Regions from separate parts of the Homo sapiens genome. Here regions 2, 3 and 4 are each linked to region 1. The links are contacts of gene promoters, found by promoter capture Hi-C in blood cells and fetal thymus (Javierre and others, 2016). All regions are on one chromosome and are shown on one strand. The core of a region is centred on a gene start or on the middle of the fragment in contact, and the rest is flanking DNA. Distances in the headings are between cores, read along the strand shown.

Region 1 (2,789 bases), core at 100-2,599:
AGATTCTGCAGCTAAAAATAAGCATATACTGTATTTGATACAATATATAATAATACATATATTATTTATAAATTTATTATTCTGAAATACATAGTACATATGTATATATAATTATATATCATTTATGTATACATATACATATATATTTTATCTTATCCCATTATCTTATGGGAATGTATACGAAGGAATACTTACTCTGCCTAGGAGAACCAGAGAATGCTTTTAGGAGGAGGAGGCACTAGAGTGGGCCTTGAAGGATGAGCAGGGAGGGGTGAGGGGAGGGTCTGCTGAACAAGCAGAACTCCATGAACAAGAGTGTGGAAGTCTGAAGATGCATGGCATAGCTAATAGTCCATAAGGAATGGAGTAGGCCATACCTGAGGCAGGATGGGGCAGGCAGGCAAGCTGAGTAATAGGTCAGATGAAAACTATACCGAAGGTCCTGTGTGTCATTTAAAAATAAATTTGATTATCCAGGTCAGCAATTCTCACCCTCCTAACATGGTCAAGGAAACTGGTTCCTGCAACCTGGAGGCTTGCTGGGGGTTAAAGAGGGAAGTGGTGAGTAAGGGAGGAGTATTACTTGGTGACTCCATGAACTGGGTTTTAGATTTAGTTTTTGCAACATCATTCTATACTATTATCCCCAGGCCTTCAGTAAAGCAATGTTCAGAGTAACTGCTTGATCTTAGCCAATTCTTAAGATATTTAAAAAAAAAAAAAAGGCTCCGTCCCAGGCTTGTACTGAACAGTGCCAAGGCTTGGAGAGCTGGTGCAGCTGGGGGAAGCTGGTCAGGACTGCTGGGGAGACTGCAAAAGACTCTAGAGGTAGTCTGGAACAAATGACGTGGTGAGAAACTAGAAGGGAAAATTTATGGAATAGGGAGCCTTCTCCAGGGTTTTCCAGAAATATTTACGGAGGGAAACCTAGTAAAAGAAGAAACTTCCAGCAGTTAAACAAAATGGAGGTTTGGAGTCGTCTTATCATGTCGACCCTAAAGAGTACTATGACCACAATAGGATGGAGGCCCTGGTGACATTTACTCCTTCAACAAGCTCTCAGAGGAATAAATCATGCTAAGCTGAGCCTGAGCCTCTCTTCTCAGAAGAGCTATTGCCTGGGAAACCCACACTCACCAGCCAAATGCTCTCTGTTGGTATTGCTTCCACCCTTGAGCCAGGCAGTCTAGCTGAAGGTTGCCATCCAACTTCAGCGTCCATGTGGCCCGGGGTTTTGCCTCTTGGATTAGTTCTTGAAATGTCTGCTCCCAAGTCCAGAAATCTACAACCATTTTTTCCCTCTGAAGCTGAGAGAGTAGCTTTCAGGTTTGCTCGTTTCTCAGGAAGAGACAAACAGTTTCAGTTTCGGTGTTCGGTTCAGTTTCTGTTTCTGTGTATGGACATGAGCTGTTTTTTTCAACCTTCATTTTAGACTGTCTGAGTACACAGAACAAGTCTTTGTTCTGAAAACAGACAGCAGCAAAACTGTGTTAGTTAATAGGCCTTGCTGAGAGAGAGATAAAGAGCTCTGTTCTAGATTCTGGGGTCACATATAAATTCGCTTTTATTTTCTCTCTCTCATTTTTTATAATAGGCAAAGTGAGAGGTGACAGCATGCTGGTAGCCCTCGCAGCCCTCGCTCGCTCTCGGAGCCTCCTCGGCCTCGGTGCCCACTCTGGCCGCGCTGGAGGAGCCCTTCAGCCAGCCACTGCACTGTGGGAGCCCCTTCCTGGGTAGGCCAAAGCCAGAACCGGCTCCCTCAGCCTGCTGGGAGATGTGGAGGGAGAGGCACGGGCAGGAACCGGGGCTGCATGCAGGGCTTGCAGGCCAGCTAGAGTTCTGGGTGGGCGTGGGCTTGGCGGGCCCTGCACTCGGAGCGGCCGGCAGGCCCCCAGCCCTGGGCAGTGAAGTGCTTAGCACCTGGGCCAGCAGCTGCGGAGGGTGCGCCAGGTCCCCCAGCAGTGCCGGCCCACCGGCACTGAGCTCGATTTCTCGCTGGGCCTTAGCTGCCTCTCTGTGGGGCAGGGCTCGGGACCTGCAGCCCGCCATGCCTGAGTCTCCCCACCCTGGGCTCCTGCATGGCCCAAGCCTCCCCGACGAGTGCCACCCCCTGCTCCATGGTGCCTGGTCCCATCGACCGCCCAAGGGCAGAGAAGTGCGGGCACACACGCAGGACTGGCAGGCAGCTCCACCTGCTGCCCCCGGGGCGGGATCCACTGGGTGAAGCCAGCTGGGCTCCTGAGTCTAGTGGGGACTTGGAGAACCTTTATGTCTAGCTAAGGGATTGTGAATACACCAATGGGCACTCTGTATCTAGCTCAAGGTTTGTAAATGCACCAATCAGCACCCTGTGTCTAGCTCAGGGTTTGTGGATGCACCAATCAGCACCCTGTCAAAACGGACCAATCAGCTCTCTGTAAAACAGACCAATTGGCTCTCTGTAAAATGGACCAATCTGCAGGATGTGGGTGGGGCCAGATAAGAGAATAAAAGCAGGCTGCCCCAGCCAGCACTGACAACCGGCTCGGGTCCCCTTCCACGTGGTGGAAGATTTGTTCTTTTGGTTTTTGCAATGAATCTTGCTGCTGCGCAGTGTTTGGGTCTGCTCTGCCTTTATCAGCTGTTAACACTCACCCGGAAGGTCTGCAGCTTCACTCTTGAGCCAGCAAGACAATAAACCCACCAGAAGGAAGAAACTCAGAACACATCCGAACATCAGAAGGAACAAACTCTGGGCACTGTGCCTTTATGAGCTGTAACACTCACCATGAGGGTCGGTGGCTTCATTT
Region 2 (2,789 bases), core at 94-2,593, 350 kb before region 1:
TTCAAAACAGTACACAGAAGCCCAGCCCTACCATGGGAAGGCTGCCCATTACATGAAATATAGCATCCAGGGCCTGCCTCCAAAGAAGAGAAAGCTTCAGCACTCACTAAGAAAGTGGCCTTCTCTCATTCCCTATGACTCATGGGAGAAAAAAAGAAAAAAGATTAACACAAAAAAGTGGCCTTCTAGAAAGACAGATGCCCAGGCAGGAGGACTTTGGAGTCTAGGAAGGAGACCTAGTGGGGTTTACAGCCCCTGGGTACTACATTGCTCCCAAACGTTTGGGGTCTAGCCCCTTATTAAATGAGGCTGACTCATTTAACCCCAGATGACAGCTGCTCAACATATCTAAAAGATGAGTTTCCTGGGTCTTTCTTTCCCTTTAGGACCCCAAGAAGGCAGGTTGGTTATGTAAATACATATGGAGTTGGGATCACAGAATATTGTAACTGGAGAGAGCTTAGTGATAATAATTCTTCCATAGGCAAGGAAACCAGGCCTGAAAAGAAAGGTGACATGCTTAAGGTCACACCAAGAATTCTTATCAAACATCACCTGACTCCCAGTGAGGTTTGTAACGTGGTTCCAGCCCTCAAAGGTTCGTAGTCAAAATCACAAAACAAAACATGGACATATATGGAAGGAAAATTACAAGGAAACACCAAAATATATAAAACTATGGCTAATAAATTATGTTCCTCAATGAAAACATATAGGCACAGGGAGGGAAACATCACACACTGGGGCCTGTCGGGAGCTGGGGGCTAGGGGAGGGATAGCATTAGGAGAAATACCTAATGTAGATGATAGGTTGGTGGGTGCAGCAAACCACCATGGCACATGTATACCCATATAACAAAGCTGCTCATTCTGCATATGTATCCCAGAACTTAAAGTATACTAAAAAACTGATGTTCCTATGGATTCTGCATATCTTGAGAAGGGGCATGTTCAGAATGGCAAATTGTCCATTCACGGCAGTACAAGGTGGACAGCCATGTTGAGCTGGTGGCCCATGGAGAGGCTCTCTCAGGGTTCTCGTGTGTCTCCCATTTGTTCTGTGGAACTTCAGTGCCTCCTTCCATCTGGACAGAGCTGTCCTTTGATGTCACCAGTAGGAGTCACCTCTAGCGGTGTAATTAGTTTGCCAAGGCTGCTGAAACAAAGTACCACCAGCTGAAATGGCTTAAACCATAGAATGTTATTGCCTCATGGTTCTGAAGGCTGGAAGTCCGAGATCAAGGTGTTGGCACTGTTGGTTTCTTTTGAGGGCTGTAAGGAAGAATCTGTTCCAGCCTTCTCTCCTACCTTCTGGTCATTTCCTGGCAATCTGGCACTCTTTGGCTGGTAGAAGCATCACCTCAATCTTTTCATCTTCACATGGTGTTTCTGTGTTTGTGTCTCTGTATCCAAAGTTCTTCCCTTTTTATGAGGTCATCACTTGTGTTAGATTAAGGCCCACTCTAATGATCTCAACTTAACTAATTATATCTGCAACGACCCTATTTCCAAATAAGGTCACATTCTAAGGTACTAGAAGTTAGGACTTCAACGTATGAATTTTGTGGGGACATGATACAATTCAACAGAGGCTGTTCATGGGAAGAAAGATGAAGAAAAATGCTCTCAGAAAAGGCACCACCCTAGCTTCTCGTTTTCACTTTCTTCTCGCTGTCAAAGACTCAGGGAATTGAGATTTGGAGAGCCTTCTCATTGCCAGTAGGCTTTACACTCACGGTCTCAATTACCCTCACGACAACTCACTGAAGTGGGTTTGTCTTCCCTCTTTACAGATGAGGTGAATGGGGAACAAGAAGGTCATGGCACTCAGCTAAGATCAGGCAATACGTCTCTTTTTTCTTCTCTAGCTAGTTTTGTCTTTTATGTCACTGGTGGGTCTCTGTCCAAAAGAGCACGACAGGACAAAATAATTGTGCTCTGTGAACGACACACTTTGATCATGCAGATGGGAGAAAGCTGTAGATCTAGGTAGGTCTTTAAGAAATAGGAATCACCAAGAACTTACATACCAGGCCATCATGGGCTTGACAAAAACCTCAACAAGAACTGGAGACTATTATAGTTAATCATGTCTTGAATTATCATGGAGTATTTGAGCTTACCCCACTGATGGTCTCATCCAGCAGTTCTGTACCATAGGAAGATTTCAGACATTCTGCTTCTTGCTCTCCAGATGATTCTGACTTAGAACCAGTGGTGAGAATTCTGATCGAATCCAACTCTATCATAAAGGAAAGGAAGCCAAGTGACATTAAGCAAAGAAATTCTATAAGGACTAGGACACAGCTCCCCCAAGGCCTATGCCAGTATTAGTTCCTCGGAAATAATACTACCATGATTTCCTATTTCCAGAAACCTCAGTGCTGCCACTAAATGGTTACCTTCTTCATATACATTCATGTATCTGATTACTTCTTTGACAGAACCCTGGCGGGGGGAACCTTATATCAATGAACAGGAATTATAAAGAGGAAGAACTCAGCTTGATAGAATAAAGGATTTCCTGTGTCTAAAGATGGAACGGGCTTTGGGTGAGCATCTGAACTCATCACTGAAGGTGATTTAAGCTTAAGATGTGTGGTGAGTTGGCAGCAATCTTGGCTTGCAGGGAGGGTTGGATTAAATGACTCTAAGGTCCCTTTCAAACTTGAGATTACACAAGATCCTACCCCATTTAGAAACTGATTTTAATCATGGCGAGGGATTCAGAGTAAGTGTTTCCTCCTAGGAGTCTCAGGACAGCAGGGCCATGGAAGTCTGGGGGCCAT
Region 3 (2,789 bases), core at 137-2,636, 330 kb before region 1:
CTCTACCTCTCCTTATGCTTCATTTCCATATATCTTCCCCCATTATGACCCCATTAGGTTCTGTGTTAATCCTGCCTCGTCCTTAAGCTCACCTTCAGCTGCCTCTGCCCATCCTGCCTTGCTTCCTTTTGGAGAGGGCAGTGGCCCCATTCAATGCTTAGGGACAAGGTACCTGGTCCTCTCCTGGAGAGCCTGCTCCTGTCGTTCTGAAACTTAGTTTTTTTACTCTGGTGCTAGGGTCTGCTTGGCTGGAATTGTCTAGACCTGCACTGTCCAATATGTTGGCCACTAGCCATATGTGGATATTTCAATTTAAATTAATTAGAATGGAATAACATTAACAATTCAGTTCCTCAGTCACACCAGCCACATATCAAGTGCACAGTACCCTTATGTGGCCAGTGGCTAACATATTGCAATGTACAGATATAGAACGTCATTACAGAAATTTCTGTTGGTGAACTCCAGTCCAGAACTTGAAATTCCCACTTAAATGTATGTGGACTTATACCACCAAGAGGTGGGTGCAGGTTTAAAGGTGCAGCATGAAGCCTTCTGGGGCAGGTAAAGGTGGTGTGAGGTTTGCTAAAGGTAGATAAACACTGTAAATAGATTATCTCTGTGCTCCTGCCTCTCTTGAGTAGCATCTGCAGTGTTGTCTTACCTTATTTCCTGAGAGGATATGGAAAGTGGGTCTGGGCTGGGTGCGTTGACTCACGCCTGTAATCCCAGCACTTTGGGAGGCTGAGGCAGGCAGATCACGAGGTCAGGAGATAGAGACCATCTTGGCCAACATGGTGAAACCCTGCCTCTACTAAAAATACAAAAATTAGCTGGGCATGATGGCCATCATGGTGAAACACCATCTCTACTAAAAATAGAGAAATTAGCTGTGCGTGGTGGTGCACACCTGTAGTCCCAGCTACCTGGGAGACTGAGGCAGGAGAATTGCTTGAACCTGGGAGGCGGAGATTGTGGTGAGCCAAGATTGTGCCACTGCACTCCAGCCTGGGTGACAGAGCAAGACTCTGTCTTAGCGGCGGGGGTGGGGGAAGAAAGTGGGTCTGGTCAACTGGGTCTGGGAAAGAAAGTAGACCATAGGGATGGGGTGCCAATTGCCAGTTGCTTACAGCCCCTTTGTAGGGTTCATAGACCTTAAATGCCACAGTTGTGTCTTTTTTTTTTTTTTTTTTTTAAGACATGGTCTCGTTCTGTTGCTCAGGCTGGAGTTCAGTAGCGGCATCACAGTTCACTGCAGCTTTGAACTCTCAGGCTCAAGTGATCGCTCACCTCAGCCTCACAAGGGGTGGATCATACACACATTTTTTTTTTTTTTTTTGGTGCAGTGGCAAGATCTCGACTCACTGCAACCTCCACCTCCTGGGTTCAAGTGATTCTCCTGCCTCAGTCTCCAGAGTAGCTGGGACTACAGGTGTGCGCCACCATGCCTGGCTAATTTTTTGTGTTTTTAGTAGAAACAGGGTTTCACCCTGTTGGCCAGGCTGGTCTTGAACTCCTGACCTCAAGCAATTCACCCGCCTTGGCCTCCCAAAGTGCTGGGATTACAGACGTGAGCCACCACCCATAACCCATACACATGTTTTAAAGTGCGTTTATACATTCCTGTGCTCAGCAGAGATGTGGTAGGACACACTAGCTACCCATGATGCAGGGAGATGCTCCTCTTTCATTATGTATGAAAATACATTATGGCAAATTTGATAGCCATCCTAGTTCCTGGCGATGGTGAGAGAAGGGGCAGATGAGGCAGATCTGCAGATGTGGATCTTCCAGGTGAGAGCAGGGCTGTGTGTCTCCACTCAGGGGAGGTCATGCCCAAGGGGAGGTGTGAGCAAGTGGAGGCAGACAGCACCTGTCCCCCAGCACCTTCCCCTCTGGCTAGTCCATGGGACCACCCCTTCAGGGTAAATGCATTTGCTGTTCCCATTCCCTCAGGCATAGCTGTGAGGCGGGCAGTTTGACTCATGAGCCGGGTTCAGATGACACTGTGTTGATCACTGTCTGGAATTGGAAACAGAAACTCTCCTATTCACACCCTTAATTGTCCCGACATTCACATCTTTCTATAGCCCACCTTCAGAGCCCCCACGTGGGGCCTGAGAGCTGAAGGTGAGGTTCAGGGATGGAGTGTTTGGTTAGATGTGTTCTCAGAGAGGGGCAGCTTTGAGCACTGTGCCCCACCTGCTGTCTGTCTCCACAGGCTGGCTTTACTCAGCACTGGCAAAGAAATCCTGGTGGCTTGTCAGATTTCTCTGTGGACCTGCAAGAGCAAAGAACTAGGCAATCTGGAAGAACCTCTGCCTTTATTTGGTTGGGTTCAGCAAAAGAGTACAAAAAGAGCATCAGGCTGGAGTGGTTGTAAATTAGCAGGAACATGAGGTTCTGGATTCACTTTCATCAGCTGCAGATGGTGCTCAGCAGGGCTGGTGCAGGGTGTGTGACCCTCGGGGCCATTGCCTAGCTGTGGATGCATGGTGTTTCTGGGAAAATGGATGTCAAGGAGCCCAGGAGTCAAGTGATCTCCAGAGAACTTGGCCAACCCTGGGAATCTTAAGGAACACGAAGGGACGGGACTGGGATGAAGTGGCGTCAGCAGCATCTGTTACTGAAGTTGTGGTTCCTGGGGGTAGGGCTAAACAGCCAAGATTGTGTCAAGGGAGAGGTCATGCCTCAGAGGGTCAGCAAGGCTGGGGCATCTGAGTTGAGGACTGTGAGTTGGGGGATGATGAGCCACTGAAAACGGAAGTGAGGACAAGGGGGCTAGAACA
Region 4 (2,789 bases), core at 208-2,707, 290 kb before region 1:
GCATGTCTGTGGTTCAAGCTACTAGGGAGGTTGATGTGGGAGGATCACTTGAGCCTGGGACGTGGAGTTTGCAGTGAGCTGACATTGTGCCATTGCACTCCAGCCTGTGTGACAGAGCGAGACCCCATCTCAAATTAAAAAAAGAAAATTAGATTCATAATCTCTGGGTGCAATGATAAAAATGATTTAGGGGCTCTGACTTGATAGTTAGATCCTGCTAGGTATGAGACACTCTTGACCATAGACTGAGGTTTTTCTTGAGTGTATGCTATGCCTCTTAAGGTAATATTTTGTTTGCTTTTATAAAATTGCCAATTCATATTCATCCATATATTGTTTATTTTGCATTGTTATTAAGTGGCTCACTTATGGTGGAATGTGTATATGAGTGTGTGTATAGATTTTTATTTTTATTTTTTAAGATGAACTCCTTCGATTTACGGATACTTATTGAGGGTCTATTTGCTAGGCGAGGTGGAAGCTACAAATATTAATGAGTTAAAATATTTGTCCTTAGTTCGAAGTCTAAATGCATGTTTACTAGTAACTATGATACAAGACATTAGTTCTTCAACAGTGTTAGAATCACCTTGAAATGTGTGAGAAATGCAGATTCTTGGGCCCAATCCCAGACCTAATAACTAAAAAATGTTGGTGATTGCTCCAGAGATCTGTGTTTTAACAAGCCCTCCGGGAGATGCTGGTGCACACTAATTTTGAGAACCACTTTCTAAGACAGTGAGAAAAAAATATCAGGTTTGGGTATATTTGGAAAGTCACCATAGTGACTAATATGCCATTTGTAAATATTTATGTTTATAATATAATATGCCATTTGTAAATATTTATATTTTTCAGAACTTATAACAAATAAATACAAAGTTGAAGGGTTTTTTTTCTCTTCTGCAGGGACAGGCACTATCAGGAATTCAATGTGTATTCTTCCCACCTAAAGTTTTAAACTTTTACTATATGTGTATAAAATCACAACTAATATGTTGCATTGCTTTGTGCTTTAACAATCTTTATGAATGTTACCTTATGTTATATTTTTGAGGTCTATCCATTTAAATTTTTCAGTCATTTTTATTGTTGATAGTATTTCATTGCAAAATATACCACAATATCTTTATCTATTCCTCTAGTGAGAAACATCTGAGTTGTTTCAAATTTGTAAAGAAGGAAAACAAAGCTTGTTGATGTCTTTAGTTCTTTTTTAACACTATGAAGCTGGATGATCTCTTTCTACTAGAGAAAAAAGTTAAAATCTAAATAACTCTGCTGGTCTTACAGTGCCTTTCATTTAGCCATAAGCATTTTATGCTTCCAGGCAATTTTTATGTTATAATTTGCTTTATTTGAAGATTATATAATTAAGTCCATCTACTTACTGTCCCTTTGTACTTATTCATCACATTGAGATTTGACCTCTCTGAAATTTCTTCTTTGGAAATTGTCTATAACGAGAACTCTCTGAATCTCAGCAGATGTTTCTAAACTCCATTGATTTCAGTTAGCATAAGTTCCCAACAGGTACTTCTAGGGAGATAGAGAGCTGAACAAATCAGACACTTGTTTATAAAAGTAAAATCATCTGGAAGGAGCTGACTTGAGAGGCTAACCTCAGGGTGAAGGCTGGATCTGCCTCACTGAACCCAGCCACAAAGAAAATCAATGATTCATTGGGGTGTAGACCCCAGGTCATTATAGCCCAAAGCTTTATAATCTGCTATATAGTTTGCCTTTTTAGGAAAGCTGTTTATATCTGGCAAATTTCTTTACTGTAACAGCTTCTACCATCTCCCAGGAATGCACTAATGTCCTTCAAATCCTGTCCTGAGAATTTTCCCAGAGACATGTGTGGTTGGGACCCAAGAGAGAATCAGCATCTCCTGGCTATGCCCTCACCCATCATTTAGAACTTGAAACCATTCTTGAGACTGTGAGCTAACTCATCATTCAATATTTAAACCTGCTCTGACATACCCCTATCCAGGAGTCATCTACACACTGCTGAAATGCCTCTGGTGGTAGGGTACTCACTGCTAAGAGCTCTCATGCCCTGGCCCCTCACAGTACCCATGTTCTCTCTTTTTCCTCCTAGCCATGCCTAGTTATTTACTTTTCTTTTTTCGTGTGATGTGTATTCCCATCCTTTCGTCCATCTCTGCACACAATTGAGTGTTGTCTATATTTTGTTTGTGTTTGTTTCTGAGAGTTATAAATCATTCTAAAGATCTAGAAAAGAAGTATTTCAACTATAGTGTTAAGTACATCAACTTATTTTTATTTTTTGATGGACTCTGTCTCATGGTCCACAGGCTGCTTTGATCAGCTCTTGGTTGAAATAAGAGCTAAAATATGCTGGATTTTTAGGTCTGTTGCTATCACCAAACCATAGGAAGACGTTTTGTCAAACACTGGGAACTTATTTTTTATAAATGAGAAAAATGAGGCTTATGGAAGAAAAGTTTCATATCCATTGTTACATTCAGGATTAAACTCTCATTCTCCTGGTTCTCTTACCAGTACTCATTGCATTATCTTTGTAAGACACTTGCAGGTATGAGTCTGTCATATATTAATTGCAGAATTTACAATTTGGCTTATGGGGAGGTAAGACTGTGAAGGTCATGTTGTCAATTTCTGTTAGTAAATTTGGGTAAGTGGGTTCCTAATGCTAGCTAGGTTTAGTTCTAAATGCAGCGTCCCATGGTCCTCAAGGATTAGTAAACAAAATCTTCTTTGTATATATTTAATTTAATTACAAGGAATATTGAGTGCCAATG

The links. Contacts are between HindIII fragments. The CHiCAGO score rates a contact against its expected background, and 5 or more counts as called.
Region 2: a fragment that was not itself captured here is called in contact with the fragment with the promoter of RTP4 in region 1 in 5 of 17 cell types (M0 macrophages, total CD4 T cells, naive CD8 T cells and 2 more); the score reaches 6.2 in M0 macrophages.
Region 3: a fragment that was not itself captured here is called in contact with the fragment with the promoter of RTP4 in region 1 in 5 of 17 cell types (M0 macrophages, total B cells, M2 macrophages and 2 more); the score reaches 6.0 in M0 macrophages.
Region 4: a contact is called between a fragment that was not itself captured here and the fragment with the promoter of RTP4 in region 1, in 1 of 17 cell types (megakaryocytes). The highest score is 5.8, in megakaryocytes.

Annotation. Positions count from the first base shown.
Region 1 is chr3:187,366,945-187,369,733 of GRCh38, reverse strand. It overlaps RTP4 (receptor transporter protein 4), which reads right to left and starts at 1,349. Exons shown (of 2, transcript NM_022147.3): 1 at 1,138-1,349. The coding sequence starts at 1,292. RefSeq lists an enhancer at 1,139-1,488. The HindIII fragment of the contact is 4,178 bases long and covers 1-2,789 here.
Region 2 is chr3:187,715,075-187,717,863 of GRCh38, reverse strand. LOC100131635 (hCG1645011-like) reads right to left here. Exons shown (of 3, transcript NR_034062.1): 2 at 2,124-2,242. It also overlaps a transcript of RTP2 not described here. Among named protein-coding and RNA genes, the nearest start is that of RTP2, 14 kb to the right of the region's middle. The HindIII fragment of the contact is 2,494 bases long and covers 97-2,590 here.
Region 3 is chr3:187,695,406-187,698,194 of GRCh38, reverse strand. No RefSeq gene overlaps it. Among named protein-coding and RNA genes, the nearest start is that of RTP2, 5.8 kb to the left of the region's middle. The HindIII fragment of the contact is 8,412 bases long and covers 1-2,789 here.
Region 4 is chr3:187,653,939-187,656,727 of GRCh38, reverse strand. No RefSeq gene overlaps it. Among named protein-coding and RNA genes, the nearest start is that of SST, 15 kb to the left of the region's middle. The HindIII fragment of the contact is 525 bases long and covers 1,195-1,719 here.